Regions from separate parts of the Homo sapiens genome. Here regions 1, 2, 3, 4 and 6 are each linked to region 5. The links are contacts of gene promoters, found by promoter capture Hi-C in human tissues and cell types (Jung and others, 2019). All regions are on one chromosome and are shown on one strand. The core of a region is centred on a gene start or on the middle of the fragment in contact, and the rest is flanking DNA. Distances in the headings are between cores, read along the strand shown. Region 1 overlaps SOBP (sine oculis binding protein homolog). Region 2 overlaps PDSS2 (decaprenyl diphosphate synthase subunit 2). Region 3 overlaps SOBP (sine oculis binding protein homolog). Region 4 overlaps SOBP (sine oculis binding protein homolog). Region 5 holds the start of BEND3 (BEN domain containing 3). Region 6 overlaps SOBP (sine oculis binding protein homolog).

What was found. The method cuts DNA at HindIII sites, captures the fragments that hold promoters and counts their contacts. A contact is called where the count stands out against the background at its distance.
Region 1: a fragment that was not itself captured here is called in contact with the fragment with the promoter of BEND3 in region 5 in 1 of the 25 tissues and cell types used here (aorta).
Region 2: a fragment that was not itself captured here is called in contact with the fragment with the promoter of BEND3 in region 5 in 1 of the 25 tissues and cell types used here (small bowel).
Region 3: a contact is called between a fragment that was not itself captured here and the fragment with the promoter of BEND3 in region 5, in 1 of the 25 tissues and cell types used here (dorsolateral prefrontal cortex).
Region 4: a fragment that was not itself captured here is called in contact with the fragment with the promoter of BEND3 in region 5 in 1 of the 25 tissues and cell types used here (dorsolateral prefrontal cortex).
Region 6: a fragment that was not itself captured here is called in contact with the fragment with the promoter of BEND3 in region 5 in 2 of the 25 tissues and cell types used here (mesendoderm cells and thymus).

Annotation. Positions count from the first base shown.
Region 1 is chr6:107,528,271-107,532,614 of GRCh38, forward strand. The region is part of intron 3 of SOBP (sine oculis binding protein homolog); the gene reads left to right. Among named protein-coding and RNA genes, the nearest start is that of SOBP, 40 kb to the left of the region's middle. The HindIII fragment of the contact is 3,696 bases long and covers 429-4,124 here.
Region 2 is chr6:107,399,169-107,403,324 of GRCh38, forward strand. The region is part of intron 1 of PDSS2 (decaprenyl diphosphate synthase subunit 2); the gene reads right to left. Among named protein-coding and RNA genes, the nearest start is that of PDSS2, 58 kb to the right of the region's middle. The HindIII fragment of the contact is 5,895 bases long and covers 1-4,156 here.
Region 3 is chr6:107,582,124-107,586,339 of GRCh38, forward strand. All of the region lies in intron 4 of SOBP (sine oculis binding protein homolog), which reads left to right. Among named protein-coding and RNA genes, the nearest start is that of SOBP, 94 kb to the left of the region's middle. RefSeq lists an enhancer at 3,528-4,216. The HindIII fragment of the contact is 4,254 bases long and covers 500-4,216 here.
Region 4 is chr6:107,546,598-107,550,740 of GRCh38, forward strand. The region is part of intron 4 of SOBP (sine oculis binding protein homolog); the gene reads left to right. Among named protein-coding and RNA genes, the nearest start is that of SOBP, 59 kb to the left of the region's middle. The HindIII fragment of the contact is 4,925 bases long and covers 1-3,790 here.
Region 5 is chr6:107,113,610-107,117,624 of GRCh38, forward strand. BEND3 (BEN domain containing 3) reads right to left here and starts at 1,906. Exons shown (of 4, transcript NM_001367314.1): 1 at 1,481-1,906. RefSeq lists silencers at 620-1,529, 1,660-1,709, 1,750-1,799 and enhancers at 2,392-3,155, 3,156-3,921. The HindIII fragment of the contact is 9,723 bases long and covers 1-4,015 here.
Region 6 is chr6:107,615,038-107,619,071 of GRCh38, forward strand. All of the region lies in intron 5 of SOBP (sine oculis binding protein homolog), which reads left to right. Among named protein-coding and RNA genes, the nearest start is that of SOBP, 130 kb to the left of the region's middle. The HindIII fragment of the contact is 4,763 bases long and covers 1-4,034 here.

The sequences.
Region 1 (4,344 bases), core at 1,027-3,526, 420 kb after region 5:
CTGAAGGATAATTTTTTGAAGCTAGGATATTCTTATTGGCACCCTTGAAATTACAGAGGTAGGGGGGTCTCCCATTTCAACCACATGGAAAGCCAGTCTTATCCATGTTCTGCTGTGAGCCCTGCTCCTTAGAAAAGAGAAGGCTGACAAGAGTATTGCTTGCCTGTGGGTAGAATAACTGCTTGAGATCCACATATTATTGGGCCTGTCTTATCATTTAATGTTTAAGTAGCACTTGCTGGTGCGAGTTATACAGAATGTTTGCAGCAAATCCATGTCTCATAGTCATAAAGAAGTAAAGGCTTGCACCGTGGGCCTTTAACTTGTTTTTTGAAAATCAATCAACAAATATTGATTAACACTTCAGCTGTCTCCTCAAAGACATTTTGACCTTTTTGATTTCATTTTCTTTGTCTATTGTTGTGTCACTGAGCAATGTGCTGTGTAAGTTGCAAAATGTGTGACAGCTTTTAGTCCTTTTTGTGGAGAGAGGTCTGTGAGGATGGTTTATAATCTTACTGCTTAGAAAAGCTGTGGTCTCTAAGGTGTAGTGGTCAAGAGCTTGGGCTCTGGAATCAGATGGCCTGGTCCTCAGTAAGGCTCTGATATGTACTTATTGTGTGATTAGGAGCAAATTACTTAACATATAAACTCACTTTCCCCATTTGCACAATGGAGATTAATGTTAGTAACTGCCTGGTTGGTGGTGGTTGTGAAAAAGATTAAATAACATTGAAATGAGCCGTGCATTGTGCGGGCACCTGCGAAGTACTGCTATCATTATGTTCTTTGTGGTTTAGTGGTCCCAGTTTTCTCTGGGTCTCCTTGTATGTTCACTCCTAGAACACAGGGAATTGTACAGAAACTCCTGGTGGACTCTGTAGAAACTTTAAGTTAGATTGCTTTAAAGTGTTTGGAATTGAATTATTTCAAAAAGGAATTTCTTTTTTGCAGAAGTTATAAAGAAAGCAAACTTCAGTTTCTTGCCTGCTTTCCAGGCCTTGACTTTATTCTGTTTTTAAATATAGCTGCTGCAACAAGTAGATTGACACAGTGCAGCCCGGCCATGGGCCATTTCATGTCATTTCATGGCATGGGGAACACACAGGAGTCTCCTCAGACTGCCTTGTAACTTGTCTCAAATATAATCCAGGTCTTTCATTGATTATCTGGATGTGTGCATTCTAGGAACTGTTGGAGGAGATAGATGTCCCAGCAAATACTTTCGGAATTTCCCCTCAGTCTTGGACTCCCATGAAAGTTACAAAGGGGTGGTAAATCTACAGTTTAATTGCCTGGAGTCCATTAATGCCCTACTGATTTTCTTTGGGCACTGGTCAGGTAAGTTAGTATACATGTTTATAGCCAATTTAAATGCCCCAAGAAGATCACTGACCAATGGCCATCCTTATTTTTAAAAGTCACCAGATAAGGCAATTTCTCAAACAACTTCAGCAGGGCATTCCAGAAATGCTTGATCTCATACTTCTCTGCACTATAATAAATACAATTTTGATTTCATCTTGGAGTAATCTGAACTTCTGGGATGTAAAGTAGAAAAATGTTCTATAGCTCTTGGAACATTAGATTGGAAAGAAAATGCCTTAAACATTCTGCTTAATTAAATTCGGTACAAATTTTTCATGATTAATTGAAATATGCTTATTTTGACTGATACATATTTATATGATATTATCATATGAAAATTATGTTATACAAACCGTTCTCTTTGGGAATGTGATTTAATGCTGTAAACATTTTACATTTGTTGTATTGTTTATTATAAAAATGCACAGGCTGATGGCTGTAAGGTAATGTCATGTAAAAATCTGTTATGTGAATCTTCTCTGAGGTAATCTCAAGTCTCTAATGGCACAGACCGTTAGCCAAAATGTAAGACAGGTAATTAGGTTTTCCCTAGCTTGAAGAAATATTTTTTTAAGTAGAAAAAAAAATTTAAAGCAGATCAAGTTAGAAAAGTTAAAGTGCTGAAACCTTCTATTTTGCCATTGTAAAGCATGCATTTCATTTCCATGTTTATTGTAAAGCATGCATTTCATTTCCGTGTTTCAGGTAGAAAGAGATGCAGGGTTGAAGTGGACTGATCCTTTTGACTTTAACCACTTAAGAAGTGTTCACTTTTCTAGGGGTGCAGTCATAAGATGGGGACACCATCTCATGTCTGATGACAGAATTTTGAACTATAGTTTGGCTGACAATATTAATTTAGATAATCACAGTTCTTTATTAGTTTCTAAAATCTGTTACTAATATAAAAGACTTTTATAAATCTAGAATGCCTGAAATACCGGAAAATGTTTTTTAAATTTTTTGAATAACCCAATTATCAGACTGTTCTTTGGATCATTAGCTGCTGATAACAGTTTAATACTAGAAAAGGAGAAATCTGATGGGCTTTTCCCAAAGCATATACCTTTATGAAATGGAGTTGTATGAAAAACTGCGGGGAGCGTTGACTTATTTAACAAGGCAGATGCTAACCATCATTCTAGAAGTTTTTCCAGCAGCCAGATATAAAAGTGCACAATGTATTTGGTCTCATGTCATATTGTTGCTTTGTAGTAAGAATGATTTATAAGAAATAATCTGTTTTAAAATTCTACCTTTTTGTTCGTTTATTTGTTAGGTCCTTTGTAAGAAAGTATTCTTGCCTCCCTTTAAAAAATGACAAGTGGGTCTGTCTGGTGATGATGGATTGAAGCTTGAGAAAGACCCCGGAGCTGCCCTTTGGCCTCAAGCATCATTCCTTCAGGCCAGGTCCAAGCTGCAAGCTAAGCGCCTGGCCTTGTGAATAGCTTTGCACTCTATTCTTTCTCATCTCAGTGTTGGTCCATTATAGCTGAAGATCTAGGACTTAAACAGTTTTATGCTTTGTTTCCCAAATCAGATTATTTAAAGGAAGAAATAATGAGGGGGACCTAATGCATGTTCTAAAATGGCTCCTTGGGAAGTGGGGTCTCCTCATTAAACTGTGAGGCCAGGTGATTTCCCGCATAAATTTTTTTCCTTACAGATTTCACCAGAATCAAGCTTACTGCCAGTGGATAATTTATGAGAATTCTGCTGTATCTTCTTTTTCAGGAATTTAAGATTTTAAAGTATCTTATCAATTGGGAAAAATAGAAACTATTAGTTGCTATCTAGTTTAGTAAAGATAGGTGAATATTTTAAAATATATGCTATTTCTAATCTAAGAAAACTGCTCCATACACCAAGGTAAATTATAAAGCTTTGCTAATTTTTCATACCATGTAAAATGTTCATATGTAGAGAGATGCCATATTAGAGATCATGTAAAATATAAATAAAAGCTTGCTTTTATTTATTTATTTTTAAATTTTTTTTGTTAAGGATATTCCTGAAATATCAAAAAGCTTGCTTTGAATAGAACAAATTATTAAATACAGTAATTGTTTGACATTTGATTTCATATTATACCATTTAAAGAAAGTTATCAAAAATGTTGGACTGACATCAAAGGTCATTTTTTATACTATCTCACTTGATAACAATAGATCACAATATGTAATTTGTGAAATACTAAAAGGTCATTAAAATGGCAATATTTATTCCATTGAGGTAAATAAAATGCTGCATATAGTTCTGAGTGGTGATACTCAGGGGGAAAAAAGCCATATCTCTGCACTACAAATTAGTTTGCTTCTAATTTTGCAGGCTGATGACCACACTGCCTCAAACCAAATCTTTTCCCTGGAAATGAAATGATTGCATGACAAACTCTATGAACCCTGAATATGTCAACAACTCGTGGACCAGGCCTTGCTTAGCAATTAGTCTTTGGGGGATTTTATCCAGAAATCAGACAACACTATACGAGTGCTTGTTGGGGATTTTATGATTACCATTCATGTCTGGAGCATGAATGTGGGTTAATAAAAAAAAAATTCCATAAAGGAAGAAGAGATGTGGCAATCAGTCTCTCTCTCTCTCACACACACACACACACACACACACACACACCACACACACACACACACAGTCACTATCAATTGGGAGGACAGAGAAAACTCAAGATGTAGCAAAAGCCGTTAAGAGGCAACAAGGAAATATTACTTAGGTGTCTACTTAAAGTTTCCTTTTATTCACCCCCACCCACCCCTCAGAGGCCAGTTTTTCCCAGACCTGAATATCACCATCATAATGTTTGTCATAACTTCTGACCACCTGCACTATGACTTACTGAATATATTTTACTAATTGACTCACTTTAAAATCCTTTGTTTTAAGCAGTAGTATTTGTGATATCATGGGCTCATTATGCTAGTTAAATTTGTTTTCTTCTCATACAAAGGAAAAGAAATA
Region 2 (4,156 bases), core at 1,646-4,145, 290 kb after region 5:
CAGCTGGCTAGTTAGCAGTGAAGCCAGGATTCAAGCCCAGGCAGTTGTTTCAGAGTACAGGCCCTTAGCCTCTAACAAGGTACCTACCCTTGGTCTTATCTACCACACATTTTCCCCCAGGAAACAGCCCATTTTCAGAGTTGTGACTATCACCTGAAGTCGCAAAATCTTGATCTCCAAGTCTCACCTGTCCAACTGCTGGCTAAACTTCAACCTGGATGTTCAGCATATTATAAAACCAATGCATCTTCTTCACAGTCCTGAAACCTCTTTCCCAAACTGTCACCAATTCTTTAGCATCCTTCCCACCCTTGGCCAATCTGGGCAATTATGATCCTATCTTCCCCTAAGTTTCAGATACATTTATGTCTATACCAGTAATCCCCAAACACTGATTTCCAACCAAGTTTACAATGGTGCATATAAAAAAGAGAAAAATAGTAATGTGCTATTCATTTTTAAAAACCTGTCTTTTATTCTGAGATAATTCCTACTATTTACTGTTAGAATGTTTTTGTTTTTCCTTTTATGAAAAAATGATAATAGATAATAGTTCATTTTATATTTTTTTCTTAGTGAACTAAAACATTAACAATACTATAATGATTCCCAAAGTTAGCTGCTCTGAAAATTTACTAACCTAGGAAATTTTTATATCAGCAATCTTTTTTTTTCCCTCAAAAATGGCAGATTAGAGGCTTTGTTAGCATACCTCATCCATTTGGAAATAACAAAATAGTGTGTAGAGATTCATACTGTGAACTTTTATACAAGAAGGAACACAGGAGCTTAACACAAAAGTGAAAGAAACTTCAGATACTTTGAAAAATAAGAGCGGGCAGCAGCTTGCACTGCAGGTCAAGCAGAAAACTGATGTGAATTCCCAGTATGTGAGTGGGGGGAGTGTCTCCACAATACACATTCCTACTGGGGAGCCAGGCAATCCAGGTCACAGGGGAGCTTTCTGACCCTATCAAGTGCTGATAGTGTCAGGGAGCAGTGGAGAGACTGTGAGAAGGAGCAGCAGAGGGAAGTGCTCCATGCACACTCCCAGACCTTGGGGTCAATAGAAGGTCATTTCTGGTCCTAATTAATTAGGGGACACATGGATGCCTACCAACCAGAATAGGCAGCAGTCAATGATTTGGAGAATCTCTGGACTGGCATTTGTGATCTAGTCTCAAGCGGGGAGGACACCCCACAGTCAGAACCAAGAGGTGAATGTGGTGTGAGCTCCAGCTGCAGGTGCAGGAGTTAGGCCCCCAATTCCCTCTTTGTGGGACTGGACTGGGAGGAGTGTGGCCTGGGGGCCGCAGTTTTTGTCCTGGGAGTTTGGCAGACTGGGGTGGTTTTGCAACCTGAGGATGAACTGTTTGTGACTTGGCTGGCTGTCTCAGCTTGCTGCAAGAGGTGGTCTGCAAGAGAAAGTCTTGCTAGGTCAAGACCATGGGAGCAATGCAGGTCCCACTACCACGTGCTAAGCTGTGGAGCTCAAGCAGTCCCTTTTTCCCCATACTGGCTCTCTAGCATGGCAGTGGTTGTCCTACTGCTCCCTGGAGTGTTGCTCCAGGGGCTTGAAAACAGCCTTCTGACCCTTATCAGGGCTGGTGTTTGCACCTGCCATTGGAGGGCCTGAGCACAGACTTGCCTGGCCCAGCTCTACCCAGCTCTGCCCTGCCCCAACTGCCTTAGAGACAGACCATAGGTTATGGTAATTGCAGAGGTTGCACAAACTTTGTCTCCTTCCCGAGCACTGTGCAATTGTGTCAGCAGATACTATAATGCGCTGAACTTCAGAACCTGAAGACAAGTCTTTACAACTAATCCATAGCCCAGCCCGTTGCATGGGACATCCAAGTACTTCTCCTGGTTAACAAAGGTCAAGTATAAACACTACTGCAACCATCACAGCAGGCTCTCACCTGTAAGTATCAATTACTGGCCAGGAGGTCAACATGCAAAGCCCATTACAGTATCTGCTGATACAACTGTACAGTACTCAGGAAGGACACAAGCTTTGTGCAACCTTTACTATTACCATTACCCACACAAGCCCGGCTACTCAGGAGACCTTGAGCCTACTCTCCCTACTGGTACATTACTACTACAACTGGCATTTGAGAAAGCTGCTGCATTAAGGCTTTTTATAACCAAGGAAATTATACAGTGTCTATACCAGTGAATGCACCCAAAAGCAAAACTAGACAACCCTACTAAACATCATCATAGACACACCCTCAAAAGAAAAAAAAGTCCTACTCCAACAAAAGTAATTCAAAAATAAAAAGAAGCGACTGTTACCCCAGATGTGAAGGAATCAGCATAACACTGAAAGTATGAAAAAACAAGGTGCTATGAGATCCTCAAAGGAGCACAGTACATCTCTAGCAATGGATCCTAACGAAAAAGAAATCTTTGAAATGCCAGGTAAAAAATTAAAAATACTGATTTTAAAGAAGCTCAACAAGATAAAAGAGAAATCTGAAAACCAATACAAAGAAATCAGAAAATCAACTCAGGATATGAACAAGAAACACAACTTCTAGAAATGAAAAACTTGTTCAAGGAGTTACAAAATACAGTTGAAAGCTTCAACAACAGAATAGACTAAGCAGGTGAAAGAATTTCAAAACTTGCAGACAGGCCTTTTGAACTAACCCAGTCAGACAACAATTAAAAAAAAAAGGAATGAACAGCTGAGCACAGTGGCTCATGCCTGTAATTCAAGCACTTTGGGAGGCCAAGGCAGGCAAATCACGAGGTCAGGAGCTTGAGGCCATCCTGGCCAACATGGTGAAACCCTGTCTCTATTAAAAATACAAAAATTAGGCCGGGCGCAGTGGCTCACACCTGTAATCCTAGCACTTTGGGAGGCAGAGGTGGGCAGACTTCCTGAGGTCAGGAGTTCGAGACCAGTCTGGTCAACATGATGAAACCCCATCTCTACTAAAAATACAAAAAATTAGCCAGCTGTGGTGGTGGGTGCCCATAATCCCAGCTACTCAGGAGGCTGAGGCAGGGGAATTGCTTAAACTCAGGAGGCAGAGGTTGCAGTGAGCCGAGATTGCGCCATTACACTCCAGCCTGGTGACAGAGCAAGACTCAGTCTCAAAAAAAAAACAAACCAACAAACAAACAAAAAAAACAAAAAAGAATGGACAAAGCCTTCAACAAGTATGGGACTATATAAAACAATCAAACGTATAAATCATAGTGTATTAGTCTGTTCTCACAATAAAGATATACCAGAGACTGGGTAATATATATATACACACACACACACACATATATATACGTATATATATGTATACATATATACGTATATATGTATACATATATATACACACACATATATACATACATTTTATATATATATATATATATAAAAATATATATACATGTGTATATATATGAGGTTTAATGGATTCACAGTTCCACATGGCTAGAGAGGCCTCACAATCATGGCAGAAAGCAAAGGCATGTCTTACATGGCAGCAGACAAACAACATGTACAGGGGAATTGCCCTTTATAAAACCATCAGATCTAGATGGTTTTATAAAAAGCAGTTTATAGAACTATAAACTAGAACTAGAACTATAAACTAGAACTAGAACTCACTCACTATCACGAGAATAGCATGAAGGTAACTGTCCCCATGATTCAATTATCTCCCCACCAGGTCCCTCCCACATTTGGGGATTATGGGAACTACAGTTCAAGATGAGATTTGGGTAGAGACATAGCCAAACCATATCATTCCACCCCTGGCTCCTCCCAAATCTCATGTCCTCATATTTAAAAACACAATCATGCCTTTCCAACAGTCCCCCAAAGACTTAGCTCATTACAGCATTAAACCAAAAGTCGAAGTCCAAAGTTTCATCCGAGACAAGGCAAGTCCCTTCCGCCTAGGAGCCTATAAAGTCAAAAGCAAGTTGGTTACTTCCTAGACACAATGGGAGTACAGGCATTGGGTAAATACTCCTGTTCCAAATGGGAGAAGTTGGCCAAAACAAAGGAGCTACAGGCCCCATGCAAGTCCGAAATCCAACAAGGCAGTCATTAAACCTTAAAGTTCCAAAATGACCTCCTTTGACTCCATGTCTCACATCCAGGTCACGCTGATATAAGAGGTAGGCTCCCACCGTCTTGGGC
Region 3 (4,216 bases), core at 1,377-3,876, 470 kb after region 5:
GTTAACCTTTTCATGGAGTCAGAAACATCACACTTCTCTGGGGTAGGCAAGTGGAGCTATTTCTAGAATGTTCCACCTTTTCTAAAGGCATTCTTCAGAGGAGGAAGAATGCCTAGCTTGCTCCAACATGCACATGGCACCAAGACTTTGGCTCAGAGGAAGCAGTGAATTTGAAGAACTAAAGTTTGCTGTATTGTAAGAATCAAAATAAGAGAAGTGAATTAGTGCTGATTCAGAGGGAAAGAGAGGTGAATACAAAGTTTGTTTAAACCAGAGGTTTTTGAAGTAGAGAGGCAATTACTGTAAATTTCTCATATCATCTAATATTTATCTAAATGTTAGGCACAACATGAAAATGGTTACACAACTGTCAGCAAAACAGGGAAATCCGCTTGCAGTTTAACTGAAGGATTTTTGTTTCTGTTATGGCAAAAAAAAAAAAAAGAAATTTCCTTAGAATAATAGGTCAAAAATGCACCTTTGTTCTGACAATCACATTTGTAGTAAAATGCAAAAAAATAGTCTCCCATTTGCTTTTCCCTGTAGTTGGCATAAATATCTAGCACACTAGTCAGAATAAAACTGTTGAAAATAACACACAAGGAGAGAGTTAGTTCATCATGAAGTGCCTTGATGTGCCTTCTTTCAGAACTTGTCACTCTGGAAAAAAGTCAGACGTGAACACAATTCTTCTGGCCCCAGTGGATATCTAGAGCCGACAGTGGGGTGGTCCACTCTCAAGAGGCAATTAGAGAATGCATTGTCTGCAGAGGATTTAAGAACAATAATAAAACCAGCTAAAAGTTGGTCTGCTTTATGTTGTTACCATGAGCCAGTGATTCTGAACAATTTTAGTGTTCACATATTCCTCCCTGAAGGGGTCGTTGGTGTCCTATGTCCACCCTCCTTGTTAAGCCATTGTCTGGCACCCCACCCAAGTGGGGGCAGATGTAGAATAAACCTCTGACTTTAATATATAAGAGGTTGTAAAACATTATGAACTGATTCTCTAGGGTAAGGAAGGTCCTATGGATGTTGTCTAACATTGCCACCAGTTCTGTGAATGATCCAACTCATTCTTACAGATCACTTACTGGGCATCAGGCAGTGGCTGGGCTGAAGATACAGTGGTGGGAGATCAGACTCTGTCCTTGCCCTTAGGAAGCTTGTAGGCTACTAGGGGAGACAAAAATCACACCAGTAATTCCAAGGTTGCAACCATGTTGAGTCTAAGAAGGACCACAGAGGAGATATTTGCCTTGGATAGAGAGGTTTGGGAAGGCCTTTTTAAGGAAGTGGTATGGTAGTTCTTCCAAGATTATTGGTCATACCAGAAACTAAGAAACAAACAAACAAATAATGATAATTTTTGCCCACAAGCAACTAGTTCTGTAATCTCTTAAATCTTTTTTCTTTTTTTGAGACAGAGTCTTGCTCTGTTGCCCATGCTGGAGTGTGGTGGCGCGATCATAGCTCAACATAACCTCGAAGTGCTGGGCTCAAGCAATCCTCCTGCCTCAGCCTCCCAAGTAGCTAGGACTACAGGTGCATGCCACCACACCTGGCTAGTTTTTGTTTTGTTTTGTTTTGGTAGAGATGGGGTCTCCCTGTGTTGCCCAGGCTTTTTGAATATTTAGGGTAAGGTCTACCATAGGGACTACATCCTAGAGGTTGAGTGTTCCTTATCCAAAATGCTTGGGACCAGAAGTGTTTGGGATTTTGGAATATTTGCGTTGTATATACTTACTGGTCGAGCATGCTAAATCTGAAAATTCAAAACATGAAATGCTCCAATGAACATTTACTTTGAGCATCATGTTGGGATTCAAAAAGTTTTGTATTTTGGGGCATGTGGGATTTCAGATTTTTGAATCTGGGTTGCTCAACCTGTATATCCCCCTCTCATAGCACAATGGTTCACTCCAGTGGGCCTGGGACCTGGTTAGAGAACATTCTGGCAGCTATGCCAAGGGCCTCCCCTTGATAGCTGTAGGCACTCTCCTTAGATCGGCAGTTCTCGCCCTTCTTTGGTACATTACAATCACCTGAGAGCTTTCTAAAAACCACCTGTGTCCAGGCCCCAGTTAAAGCACAATCTTAGAAAGGGAGGGGGTCAGACACCAATATGTTAAAAAAAAAAAAAAAAAACACCCCAGATGATTCTAATATGCAGCTGGGGTAGCGAATTCCTGTGTTAGATGAATGCACTGAATTACACTTATTCCTGTCATAGTAATTTAAAATTACACATTAAAAATTTCACAATGCAAAGGGGATTACAGTGGTGAGAAGTGTGTGTGAGTTATTTGTGCACACAAATACACGTGAAGGTGATGGTTCAAGAACTTCTTGTACTTTGCATGCTTTTCATTTCTGTGGCATGTAGTGGAAACACAGCAAATGGCTGAAGGATAGAATTTCTTGGACTCTGGAGTCAGGGTGGGTGTTAGAGGACAGGCCATTCCCAGAGCCATGGAAGTTTGATGCAGAGGTGAACATAATGGTTCAATAAAAAAGCAAGTTTCTAGCTTTCTGTCTCCACTTCCGAATCTCTTCAATCCCCCTCTCCTTTCTCTTCCACTGCTACTTTATTTAACCTCATAAATTATGCAGCTTTATATGAAGTCTGTAGCCCCTTTGAGGAAGCATATTCAAATATTAGATAATGGGATTTTTTTTTTGTCCTTTAAACACAAAAAAAACATTGTGTGCACCTTACATGTAAGTGGAATGAATGTATTTTTGCCACTAATGTTGAAAATATCCTTAGGCATCTGGTGTGTATGAATGTGTATACATAGTATATGCATAATAAACACATTCCACCTTATGAATATTTATATACAAGATACATATATATTGAATATAGACATACATATGTAAATAGTAGCCCTTGAAAATTATATGCAAAGTGTGTTTCCAAGCATATATATCATAGTGCATCAGGAATATAATAAAGCTACTACCAAGTTTAGCATATTTTGAGGTGGCATTTTCTACAGAGTTGTTTATGGTAGGGTCTACTTACTATCCACGTATGGGTTTTTTCCATCATCACTTAAATGTTTGTTAAATATCAACTAAAAGTAAGGCACTGGGCATGGCAGAACAAGAAAGATGAAATTGATGTGGTCCCTGCCTTTAAGAGACCTGTACCTCATAGAGTGGCTTAACATTTTGTTATGAAGAATCTAATATTGTCACTGCCCAATGGCATCTTCCTACTTTCTTACAACTGCCTTTCATTTATCTATGCCACTGCTGCCTTTGCCAGTTGGGATTTAAAATGTGACCCATTTGAGCTATATTAATTTAAACCATGGCGTAGCTGCAAAGTTGTTCCGATGCAGTAAGAAGAAACATCATTGGTCTCAGTGCCTTGTAGCCACTGGACATGAACAACAATTAAACTTTTTTCTCTGTCGCATATAGCCAATCCTATAACTGCATTTTTATTTTAGTCTGATTTAGTAGGAAAAAAAGGTACAATAAAAAGGCACCAAGCATGAGGGATGTTATAAATCTCAAAAGTGAACCAAAAGAGAGCAATCTCTTTTCCCCACAAACTTCTTGTAACCTAAATATTACTGACCATGACATTGCACTTCCAAGTTCCATCTAGTTCCCTCCCTGGACTAGGTAGCAGAAGCTTTCTTAAACACAAGCAATACATTCTAAAATGTACAAAATATGGATCTCTTTCTAAAATGACAAGCCCCAGTATAGCCAGGGAGCTCTGAGTGACACTCATCAGGGCAGATTTTGCTCCATTAAAGGAGGAACAATACATAAGCATTGTCATCTCTGCCACAGTGTATGCTCATTGTTTTCTCCCCCCTCAATCCATACATAACAACAGGTAGTTCTCAGCTGTTCCCTTGGTGCCAGACATACATTTTATCTAAAGAGACAGCAGACAGAACTACCTGCTGCTTCCTGTGCGGCTCTCCCTGTGTTTCTCTCCTTTTTCCTACTTCACTAGGGCTTTTAAAAATCAGCTGGCAGGGAGCCAGGAGCTCATCATTTTAATGCAGTGTAAAATGGAATATGCATAATTATATGCAAGCCATATGTGAGGGAGACAGCTCAGCTGTGAATTTCAGGAGGCCAGGAAAGAGAGAGCAGTTAGGGCTAAGATGAGATGAGAGCAGAGCGGAGTGCAAGTGTCACGCAAATGAATGGTTTAATGAGTGTGCTGCAGACACGCCCCCTTTCA
Region 4 (4,143 bases), core at 78-2,577, 430 kb after region 5:
ATTTGAAATGGGTGAGTGTCCATTATCATAATTTTGAGAAAAGCCAGACTCTAAGGAATGACAGAACAGTACAAAGTTTGCAGGGTCACTATTTGAGGAGGCTCCTTTGAGAAAAACAAAACAAACAAACAAAAAACAGTATTTATGTCTTGAGTTAGCATTTGATACAAACCTAAATAAAAATGACCAAATATAGCCTTGCAAAAAAGTAAGGTAAGTTGTTTGGATTTTCAAAAATCCAAGTAATTCATTTAGAGTTTGGCTGACTCCTCCTGAAGAGACCCTTGAGGAACATAAACAACTGAAGACAAGGAATAAAGCCCAGCCTTGGATTAAGAACCTGGGGAAGGAGTGGATGATATTCCTCAGGGTAGAGAAATTAATAGTGTACCATCCCAGGGGTTTATATTAGGAGTAGTGTCACTTGGTAATACTGATGGCTTATTTGGCAGTAGATGACAGGAAGGAGGTAGCATTCACTACTTTCTCTTAGTTGCTTTCATTTGAAAAACCACAGAGAATTACCCTCCGCCCAAAAAGAAACCCTTACAAATATATACATATAATGAGGTAACCTGACATCAGATGCAATTCCATTCACTCAGCCATCAGCGAGCACAAGGGAACAAAACGTTTTAATCCTCACGTCCCTGATATGGGCTGACTCTCAGCATCCCCAGAGAGGAGAACTTGGTCCCATCTGTAGGGGGCTCATTGTGTTACCTGCCTAGAGTAAAAAAATTAACGTTTAAATGTTTGACTGCATTAAAGACAATTTTTAAAAGCAGACAAAAGTACGTCAAACAATATGCTGATAATCAAGCTATGTCCCTTCTCACAGGAAATGTGTAGTTCATTCTTCTTGAACCTGATTTTTATAAAAGGCTAACGCTGAACTTTAAAAGAGTTGACACAGAGGATTAAATGTGTTTTTATTATACTGCAGGCTATACAAATATGGGATACAAAAGCCTGAAAAGGTATATTGTTGAGGACAAAAGAACTAATAATAAAACTAAAGAATTGGTAAATGTAAATGTAATCAAAATGTACTCAGCCTCTTAACACTCAGGGGTAACCTTTGCAGTTGGCCACAATGGGGAAAGACTAGGTCAGACTCCATGGCAGATGGTTTAATACATAGTACATACATTAATCCACGGAGGCAGCCCTGGAAATGCAAGCAGGTTGTTAATGATCATGGATAGTAGTTGTGAGCTGTTCCTGGTCTTGCAGTTAAGTGTTCAGATGTCATGCTTCGGGGTCCAAGTTGATGGGTTTCTGGGTTGGGAAAACATTTTCCCCCTTCTATTGCACTGCACAGCTGATAAGGCATGCTTCAGGGAAGGAGTGATTTAGACTACTGCAGGTGAATGGAAGGGAGAGAAGGTAGACTTACAACCCAGTCCCATGATTTAGTTTGATGACTTTTTACTTCTAGTTAAAGTGGTACCATTGAGAGTTCATTGAGTATGAGGGATTTGTGAATCAAATGTAAAGGAGCAGACACCACTGCTGTAAATCTAATAGAACTTCAAATCTGACATCAAGTCAATACTGCTTACCAACAACAACAAAAGGAATCCCCAATCTCATGGCCTACTGGCACCAGAGAAAACCATGTACCAATAATATAATTTTCTTTTTCTGTTTTCTTTTTGTTTTTTTTTTTTTGAGACAGAGTCTTGCTCTGTTGCCCACGCTGGAGTGCAGTGGCGTGATCTTGGCTCACTGCAAGTTCCACCTCCTGGGTTCCTGCCTCAGCCTCCCGAGCAGCTGGGACTACAGGCGCCCGCCACCATGCCTGGCTAATTTTTTGTATTTTTAGTAGAGACAGGGTTTCATTGTGTTAGCCAGGATGGTCTCCATCTCCTGACCTCGTGATGCGCCCGCCTTGGCCTCCCAAAGTGCTGGGATTACAGGCGTGAGCCACCGCGCCCAGCCAACCTATAATATAATTTTCAACGTTCTTTATCATGAATTGTTTAATAAGTAGAAAAGAATATTGACCTCCCAAATTTCAGCACAATCAAAGTTGACTTAAATAGTGAATTAAGGGCTGGGTGCAGAGGCTCACATCTGTAACACCAGCACTTTGGGAGGCTGAGGTGGGAGGATCACTTGAGGCCAGGAGTTCGTGACCAGCCTGGACAACATAGCAAGACTCTGTTTCTACAAAATATAAAAAAAATCACCCAGGTGTGATGGTGAACACCTGTAGTCTCAGCTGCTAGGGAGGCTGAGGTAGGAGAATTGTTTGAGCCAGGAGTTTGAGGTTGCAGTGAGCTGTGATTGTGCTACTGCACTCCAGCCTGGGTGACAGAGCAAGACCTTATTTCTAAAAAATAAATAAATAAATAAATAAATTGAATTAAAAACAGATAAACCGGCCGGGCGCAGTGGCTCAAGCCTGTAATCCCAGCACTTTGGGGGGCCGAGGCGGGCAGATCATGAGTTCAGGAGATCGAGACCATCTGGCTAACATGGTTAAACCCTGTCTCTACTAAAAATACAAAAAAATTAGCTGGGCATGATGGCAGGTGCCTGTAGTCCCAGCTACTCGGGAAGCTGAGGCAGGAGAATGGCATGAACCCGGGAGGCGGAGCTTGCAGGGAGCCAAGATCGCACCACAGCACTCCAATCTGGGCAACAGAGCGAGACTTCATCTCAAAAACAAACAAACAAACAACAACAACAAAAAAAAACAGATAAATCCAGAGAATTAATTATAAAGAGGCATACTCCCAAGCCCTATACTGGGGTGGAGCTCATGGAAGTTATTTGTATTATTGAAGCACAAATTGATTATAGAAGCTTAAATCAAAATAACCAGAATTAAATAGAAACTCAGGAAAAAAAAAACCCTAGATGCCTTATGGGGTTTCATTTAGGGTGTCATTTTGCATTAAATGCGATGAAAGAAGAAAGTTAAAGTGCCCCAGAGTAAATGGAGTTAGAACTTTATATTTCCTTTCCCCCAGAAGTACAGCTCCCCTCCTCATTCAAGCCCTTTTGCTCATTTTTTTTTTACATTTCTAATGTAGTCATTTAGTACTTAGTAAGTATCAGTTAATTTTTAATTTTTTATGATCATATAATTCAGCTCTGGATAAGGAGATGTTTGATGTTCCATGGCCTAGATATTTGGCTAAATATTTGATCAGGGGCAAGTAAAGGTGATATAGACCTCAATTTCTTTCTCCCTATGTGTGTAGGGAGATGGGGTGATGTACTGGAGAAAACCTATGTCAAAACAACCGTGATAGTTAACCCCTATCACCTGCACTCTCCAGGGATGTCCAGGGGCCTGGTAAGGTATGGTCATGTTACTCTAACCCAGCTGTGCATGGGAGGAGACATGGAGAGATGGGCCTTACTCATTCCTGGGAAGCCTGGCACCCATGGGGTCCCTCCTCTCCACACCTGGAAGGCCAGTGGGGACAGGAAGGAAGTTGGCAGCTTCCATTTTGGTCTTGAGTCCTAAAGCTGAAATAATCCTTTCTGTCACTCAGCCCCCTTGCAGGGCAGCTGCTAACAGGAACAGTTGACCCACACTCGGCTTGGACCAGGATACTGGAATAGTGTGGGTAGTGAAAGGCCAGAGAGAAGCATAAGAATGCATATTTGGGTACAGACTGGTGTCTGTAAAACAAGCACATGAATCTGCAACTCAGTGAGGTCCTCAGAGGATGGAACTTGTCTCAGGGCTGGGTGCCGTGGAAATTAGACATCTGAGACGTGGTTTCTGCTCAGAAGAGTGTCTGTTTGAGCGTGTGAATTGTCCTGTGCTTGTGTGGAAGTTGACTTCACGCCACACATTTATCCACTTACGCATTTATTCAACAAGCAATATTGAGCATCCGCAGTATGAAGGGCATTGTTCTGTGGCTGGGGATACAAAGATAAATAAAGAGAGGTCCTTGCCTCTGAGGCTCTCACAGTTGAATGGGGAGAGCAACCAGTAAACAAATGACATGATGTGAGGCATGCTGGAACTGATGCGGGTAAGAAGAACCCGGGCACCACAGGGTGACTTACCCAGCCCAGAGGCCAGGCTCTATGCATGAGTGAGCACATGCTAATTTAGAGACCAAAATATAGATTCAGGAAATGGGATGGATAGAAAAAAGGACGGTGAGGCTC
Region 5 (4,015 bases), core at 656-3,155:
TGAACGCCTACTAAGTTATGAGACACCGGGTTAGAGGCTGGGGATGTGAAACTGTGAGGGAGATAAAAAATCTTGCCCAAGTCCCAGTACCGAGGAAAGCTTGACAGGCTCTTGTATGGTAGTATAAAGCCAATATCTAGGGATGAATGGTTTAAAAAAAAAAGAGAGAAAAACGGACTGCAAGGGTGGAAGTGGGGAGCGGGTAACAAGAGAAAGTCCTCCATCCCAGCCGTTTATATACCTGGCTACCTGAAGGACTCAGTTCCTTACCTCAGTTTCCTGCAACCGTAGCTTTCTGGCACTATGCCACGCTGCCCTGTGGCATGTTTACTATTTGTATTCAACCATTCAAAAGTTACTTTAAGGAGATGAACTGCACATTTCCAACTCTAGTGAGTAACCTTGTTCCTCCCGGCACTCTTGTCGAGTTAGCGTTTACGTGCAGAATTCTTCCAGAAAGACCACCTGAGCAATCAATAAAACTTTTATCTCTGTAAAAACACCTTGTTTAAAATAGCTACATAGGGAGACGTAGGTAAACAAGCACACAAGGGCCTCCAAATCGGTGGTGCACAGCTCACGGATGAGGCAAGGGCAAAGCATGCGTGGGAAATCACGTTTATCATAGAGAAGGAAAGGAGCGCTCACGAGGAGCGGCGAGCGCCCCAGGCTTCAGCTTTGCGGCCGGCCGGCCAGGCCTCGCGCCAGCCCGGGTGCACACCCAAGGCGCCGGGCCCGCCTCCAGCTCCTGGGCAGCGGGAACCGCGAACCGCCGTGGAACGGCCGGGAAGGGAGCGCTGCGCCCCCTGGCGGCGGGGCCCATCCCTCTCCGCTCCCGGCCGCCGCCGCCGCGGGCCGGCCTCGCTCCATTTGCAGCCTCCGGAGGCTTCGTTCCTCCGAGCGGCTGCTCCCCCGGCCTCCCGCTCGCCGCCCGGCATCTCCCTCCAGTCCCCGCCCCCTGCTCCCGCTCCGACACCCCCTTCCACACGCCGAGCAGTGCCCCGCCAAAGCCCCGCCGAGCGCGAGCGCCAAGCCGCCGCGAGTACGGCAGAGCCTTCCGGCCGCCCCGGCCGCTCCATCGCGGCGCCCGGCGGGGGTGCGGGGCCGGCGCGCGGCGCGAGTGGGGCGGGCGGCGGCGGCGGCGCGGACGGTTCCACCGCGCGAACCCCCCGCCCCCGCGCGGCGCGCGTGCTCCCCAGAACGCCATGGAGCCGCCGCGTTCCGAGCGGGCACAAAGGGGCGCGCAGCACAATGGGCGCGGCGAGCCCGTGGGCGCCCGGCGCCCGCTCCGGTCGCTCGGCCCGCGCGGGGGTGGGCGCTACTACCGGCGGGCGCGCTCGGAGCAGCCCCCCTCCGCGTCCCCTCCCCTGCTCCCGCCCCCACCCCGGCATGGATGTTGCAGCCACTCTACCGGCCGCTCGCCCCGGAGCCGCCAACGCTGCCGCCGCCGCGCGGCCGGCTTGATCCGCCCCGCACTTACCTGGGACGCGAGTTCTGTACTTTGCCGGGCGGGCCCGCGCCGAGTTTGGGCGCCACGTGGGGGGGAGGGCGCGGGGCCGGGGAGTGGGGGCCGCGCGCGGAGGGCCTGGCCAGGGCGGCCCGGGGAGGCGCTGGGGGCGGCGGGCGGGCGAGCGCCGTGTATTTTCCCCTCTCTTTGTGTGTGTCCGTGCGCTGCGCTCTCGCGTGACGTGACGGGACTCCGTGTGTCATTTCCGCACAAGGACACAGGAGCCCCCGCTGCAGTGGAACCACAACCCCTCCGCCCCCACCCCCGGCCCGCCCCTCCCCCTCAGCGGGGCACACGCGGGACCGGCGGCGGCGGCGCTCGGGCGTGAACGGCCGCGGCGGGGAGCTCGGGCGCGCACTCCCGGGACCCAGGCGGCCCGGCGCGCTCGGCCAGCGCAGTGGCTCCACGTGGGCCCGCGCTGGCTGCCCGGGGCGGGGGCGGCGGCCGCGCACCCACGGCGCGCCGGGCAGGCGCCGCGAACAATGTCCCCTGTACCCCATGTGTCCTCCCACCGCGAGTTCGTCCTCGGAAACGTGGTTTCTCAGACCCGAGAGTTTGGCCCCAAACGGCTTTTTCTACTTTTTTGCCCCTTGCGGGACGGCGACTGTGCGGAGCTTGTCCCGCCTCGCGCCCACGCCTCTCCCGCATTTTTGGCCTTTGGGCCGCAGCCCAGGCCCCCGGGGCCGGTCTTCCCGCGCCGCCACCGGCACAAAGACCTTGGGGCGCGAGGGCCCGGGTGGCTCCTGCGGCCCCGCGGGGCGGCATGGAGTCCGGCGGGACCCGGGAGAGCGACCCTGGCGCTGGGAAAAGCTGGCTCTGGCCACTCCCCCTGCACGGTGGCCGCCCTCTGTTGTGAGCCTCAGAGCTAAAATCTGCTCTTGCAACCCGAAGTTCTGGGGTGTGAGGCTGCGGAGCGAGAGCTTCGGAAGCGCCCGCGCTCACAGACACACACCCCACAAACACAAACCCACGGGCTGTCTGCGCCGAGCGCCTAAAATAGAAAAACACGAGTCACCAACTCAATAAAGGCTGATTCTGTCTACTCCTAACTCTTGGACTGTAGATTCCCAGTTGATAAATACGAAATCTACCCCTCGGGTATTTTCTCAAGTCTCAGTGGCTGGGTAGGGGGAGGGGGAGGTGCTGGGTGAGAGTCAGGGAAGCCCAATTCAACAGTTTAGCCACGTTTGTATTTTAGGCAAACAATGAGAATGTAAATTTAAGAAAAATCCTTTAATTTGCCGATCAAAGAAAGTATAAAAAGAAAAATGCAAATGATCCCATCTGCTGCTCACAGCTGACTGGCTGCAAGGGAGGACCATGTGGCACGGCCCTGCGCGGTCAGTGAATAGGTAGAATAGATTTTTAAAAGAAGGCATATGTTGGCTCCTTGCTGCCCAGTCGCGGCGAGGGTTTGAATTAACGTATAGTTTGGGTTTACCGTACCCTCCTTCAGACCACTCCAATTGGGAATTTAGTAATTATGCAAGTTCCCCCCCTTCGGGCTTGAAATCAAAAGGCACAGGGTTAAGTTTGAGGAACTACGTGGAACATTCTCGAGCTGTATTTGGATTACTGGTTTAGTGAAGTCAGTACTAATTGCTATGCAAAATTAAGCAAGCAGCCTGAAGAACCAAGCCCTGCATCCAGGGGGTGCTTTTATAGAAGAATCTATACGTGCTCAGTGTCATTGAAAACAGGATGATGAAAAGAATGGGGCCGAGATAGCAGCCCTTCAAATTCAAAAGACTTAGGTCGCCCTATCTACATTTAAAATAGGGCGGAGGGAGGAAGGGAGGAGGACTGCTTGGGGGAGAATGGTTAATTTATACATTCGCAGAAGACTGAGGGGAGGCACTTCGATTTCTGCAGAGAACTTGACTTTTACACTTGCACATTAAATAACACGTACGACACAGTACATCGCTTGACTTAGTTAACAGATACACCAGTTTTATTCTCACCTTCAATTTAATGTGACAGTTATAATTAGAATTTTTAAAGTAGAAGTTGCATTTCATTAGTTCAGTTTTCTAGGATTTCCCAGTAGAAGAGTTAGGAATAGTTAAGTAGCACTTAAGCACATTTTGCATTTAAATCACTTTGCTGTGGTGCTTTAAGAATGTAAAACGACCTTGTTAAATTTTTGGAAAGAGGACTAGATGAAACGTGTGTAGTGAGGGGATATATATTTAACCAATCTTTCACAGTGACAACTCAGGTTTTTAAGGAGAAATTAAATAATAAGACAATAGAGATAGAAATTAACATTTCTCTGTTCATATTGCTTGAAACAAAAGATTTCTGTCAAATACAATAATTGAACTGATATAGCTGACTTTTCAAAACAACTTTCAGGAAACTCAAACGGACCTTGAATATTATTGTAAAAGTATGTATCTTATATTTGCATAAATGGATCTATCTACTTAACAAAGTAAGTGGCTTGTTTCAAATAAGTTATTAATAGAAATAGAAGTCATTGCTATCCAAGAAAGGAAATCACCT
Region 6 (4,034 bases), core at 680-3,179, 500 kb after region 5:
GAGAACTCAAAATGGAGCCACTCCCTGAGTAAGGACCTTGGGTTCTAGCAAAGCAGGAGAGATCCAGCTGGAGCCTGCGGCACCCATGGGGACTGTTTGTGTTATTCTCTATATTTCATGCAGCCACATTAGTGAGGTTTGAGGATTTGGGTGGTCGGCATGATCATGGTCTTCAGACATTTGAAGGACATAAACACAGAGGAAGGAAGGAATTTATTTAGCTCAGAACAAGGGGTATAATTAGGGTAGGAGTAATGAAATAAAATTAAGGAAAGAAAGATTTAGACTGAATATTAGTGGGGTACTTCCAAGCAATAGATTTATTAAGCTTTTAGGTATTTTCTAGGGATTATTACTCTGTTTTCCAAGTCACTTGGAAATCAGAGGGACAAAGGCTGAGATAATCTTGAGGAAACGACAGCCTTTGGGTATGGGGCAAAATGAGAGGGCTTCACTTTGTCCCTCACCTGCCCCTAGTCTGTCTTGTAAATGTGAAAAGCTCAGTGGGCAGTCCCCTTCTGAATTACTTCTGTCTACCTATAGAATGTGCTTGGTTTTTTGTTCAGACCAGGAATTATTCAAAGGATGGTGTGTTCCCCAAGGGAAAAATCTGATTGTGAGAATCTGGGGAGAGTTCCTACCTGCCCTGAGGTTGGGCAGGCTGATTTCTGCTTGTTAGTTCTGCCTCTGGAGAGCAGGAAGAGGAGGCAAAATTTAATCAATTCCAGTTATGGACGGGAAAGGATTTTGAAACTCTGGGTTAAAAGAAGATGACTAGTTAGAGACCAGCCTGGGCAACAGAGTGAGACCTTGTCTCTAAAAAAAAATTTATAAATTATCCAGGCATGGTGGTGTATACCTGTAGTCCCAGCTACTCAAGAGGCTGGGGTTGGAGCATCACTTGAGCCCAGGAGATCAAGGCTGCAGCGAGCTAGGATCATACCACTGCACTCCAGCCTGGGGTGACAGGGCGAGACTCTGTCTCTGGGCAAAAAAAAGAAAAAAAAAAGAAAAAAAAAGGATGCCTACTCATTGAGGAAGGGGGGTGGGGGGGGGGCGGGGGGGCGGCTTCAGCCATTGTGGAGTCTCTAATAAATCAGGAGCTTTTCTTTCCCTCTGGAGCCTTTCCTGTGCACTCTTGGGATCTACTTGTCCTTTGCAAAGTCTAGTACAGCCACCTCTCCCATGGGGAAGGAGACACTTAGCATCCTGGGACCACCAGTCACAGCTTTAGGACTTTAGCTTTCCTGGACCAGCCCTGATGGCACCATGCATTGCCTGGATGGTATGCACGGACCCAGGCTCCCTTCTGAGACTAAGAACAGACATTTGCATTCAGGTATTTTGCATATGCCATTGATAGCACTGAAAAGTAAAACAATAGAACAAGATACTAAAATCTGGGAAGATTTTCTTGGGACTTTCAGTACATCTAGCTTCCTCTCTGGTCACAAGGGTAGACAGCTGGGGACTTTTCTATTACTGGGGTAGCTCCCTTGTAATTTTCCACTTTGAATCTTACATCTTTTTGTATTAAGTTAAATGGTGTTTTGCTCTTTAAAATAGCCTTGTAATATGGCTGGTCTGCACTGCTCGCTTTGTCTTAAAAGGGAATAAAATTCTTAAATTGAAAGCAAATCGGAGAGGGTTCTATGGCGCTCTCTGCGAGGGGCCGAGCGTGGATTCGGGTCTGATGATTACTTTGACTGCAGAAACAGTGGGGGCTGTAATCTCCGAAGCAGCGGACACTCACAGCGACGGTTGGCCCAGTCCTTTGATTTAGACAGCCCTTGGCTGTCTTGCCTGGCCTAGAATCCCTATTCCATTGAAGTCTGGCCTCAGGCTGTCTTCTTGGGCAGTGCCATTTGCATCCAGGCATGGGGAGGGCCTCTGTGTCCTCAGGGTGCCGTGTGTTTGTGGTGAGAGAGGATGAACAGGCAGCAGACAGGGGCTCCCGGGCAGTTGCTGGGCTGCTGCTCGAGCGTCTGCCAGGCATGATGAAATGGGAGGAGGCAGGGAAGGCTTCAGAGCAGCAGGGTTCACCCGCACACCTAAAGTCCTAACAGCATGCAGGCATGGTATAAAACAGGTGATCCCTTAATGAGGTTTTGATGTGTGCGCTGGCTTTTGAATTTTATGCTGGAGTGTCACTGCAGTGTGGGGTTATCTCCAAGGAAACCCTCACATACCTTCCACATCCATTTTCTAACCCCGCTTCTAAAGAGGGCAGCGTGCCCCAGTGGTCTTAAGGGGCATTATAAAACTCTCGAGATAAGATTAATTTGGATTCTTGCTAATTTGGAAAGTCAGTGTAGTCATGAGGAATGTGTGAGTGTGCTGAAAAAAGTGGAACCAGCCACCCTCTAAAAGGCAGGGTAATTATTATACAGGGTTGGGTTGAACAGAGGGTTTGTGTCGCCTTTACTGTTGGTGATCATCAAAGATGTCTTAAGCTAAGAACACAGTTGTCTTTCTCAGTGTGACTCCCGTTTACTGCGTATCAAGCTGCAGGAAGTCCAGCTGATGTAAATAGATTAATATTTAAAAAGTAATACAGAAGAATGAGGTTCCAAACATGTAATGTTTAATTATTGAAAACCCATAATGGAATTCCAATCCAAACTCATCTCTCACATCTCACTGGTGTTCAGCAAAGAAGCTCAATTAGCTGGGGAGCCTGCCCACCCCACAGCTTGATTTGATCATCCCAGGGCCAAGCCCATGCTCTCTCTTAAAGTGCCTGGCAACACAGATGTGGGCAGCTTGGGTTGTTGTATGACTCCTTTTTTTTTTTTTTTTTTTTTTTTTCTGAGACGGAGTCTCTCTGTCGCACAGGCTGGAGTGCAGTGGCACGATCTCAGCTCACTGCAACATCTACCTCCTGGGTTCAAGCAGTTCTCTTGCCTCAGCCTCCCAAGTAGCTGGGACTACAGGCACCCGCCACCAAGCCAAGCTAATTTTTTGTATTTATAGTAGAGATGGGGTTTCACCATATAGGCCAGGCTGGTCTTGAACTCCTGACCTCAGGTGATGCGCCCGCCTCAGCCTCTTAAAATACTGGGATTACAGGTGTGAGCCACCGTGCGCGGCCCGTATGCCTTCTTATTACATAATTGTTGCAGCCCTTTTTAGTCAAATTAATGGGTAAATGACTGTACAGTGTGAACAGGACAATAGAGAAGAATTTGCATAACTTCTAACTGGTACAATTCAGGAAAGTTAGGTGACCTTCCAGAAATCATAGTATTAAGGGCATTCATAGTTCCTTTGGGTTTATTAGGCCATGAAGTATTTGTCTGGTTAGAAGAGTTTACTTAGTCTAGGGGTAGCTGATCACCCATTCTCCTCTTGAGACCATAGTTCTTTGGCCCTTTAGGACATATGTGTCACTTACTCTGGATAAGGCTGAATTTGCGCAGAGGCCTGTGGCAGAGAATGGCCAAAGGAAGAGATAAAATGATCAACATGACTAGAATAAACCCTCATCCATAGACCAATGGGATTTAGTTCAAAATCAGTGTGCCAGCAAGGCTGTTTGAAGTAGTTTTCTTGATTTTATGTTTTTATTTAGCATGACAGTTAAGGACAGTCCTTTGTGTATAAATACAAAAAATAGCGATATGCCATTTGTTGTTGTTTGGTTTAAGTGCACGTGAAGAGGCTGCTCAGTTGTGGCCCCTTTCTCATGTAATGCTCAGGAATTCATCTGTCATGCAGAAAATGCAGCTGTGTGACCTAAAATGCTCTTGGGTGAAGCCTCGGGGTTTGGAAGGTCACGCCATAGGTACTGGTATTCATGACATCCTGTCGGGCTTGTGGGCTGCGTAGGGTAACTAGAACTGAGAGGACAGAAATTGAGTTTGTAGTGACTGCAGAAGCTGAAACCACAAGGTGAAATGTAATAGGGTCTAGGCCTCAGTGAGCACAGGAAGCTGATTAGAGGTGAGCAGGGGCGGGGGAGCACTGAGGCTGAGAAAAGTGCCACAAGGGGACGAGTAACGTTGATTTCTGGACAGAGCCTGTTAACATGCGGA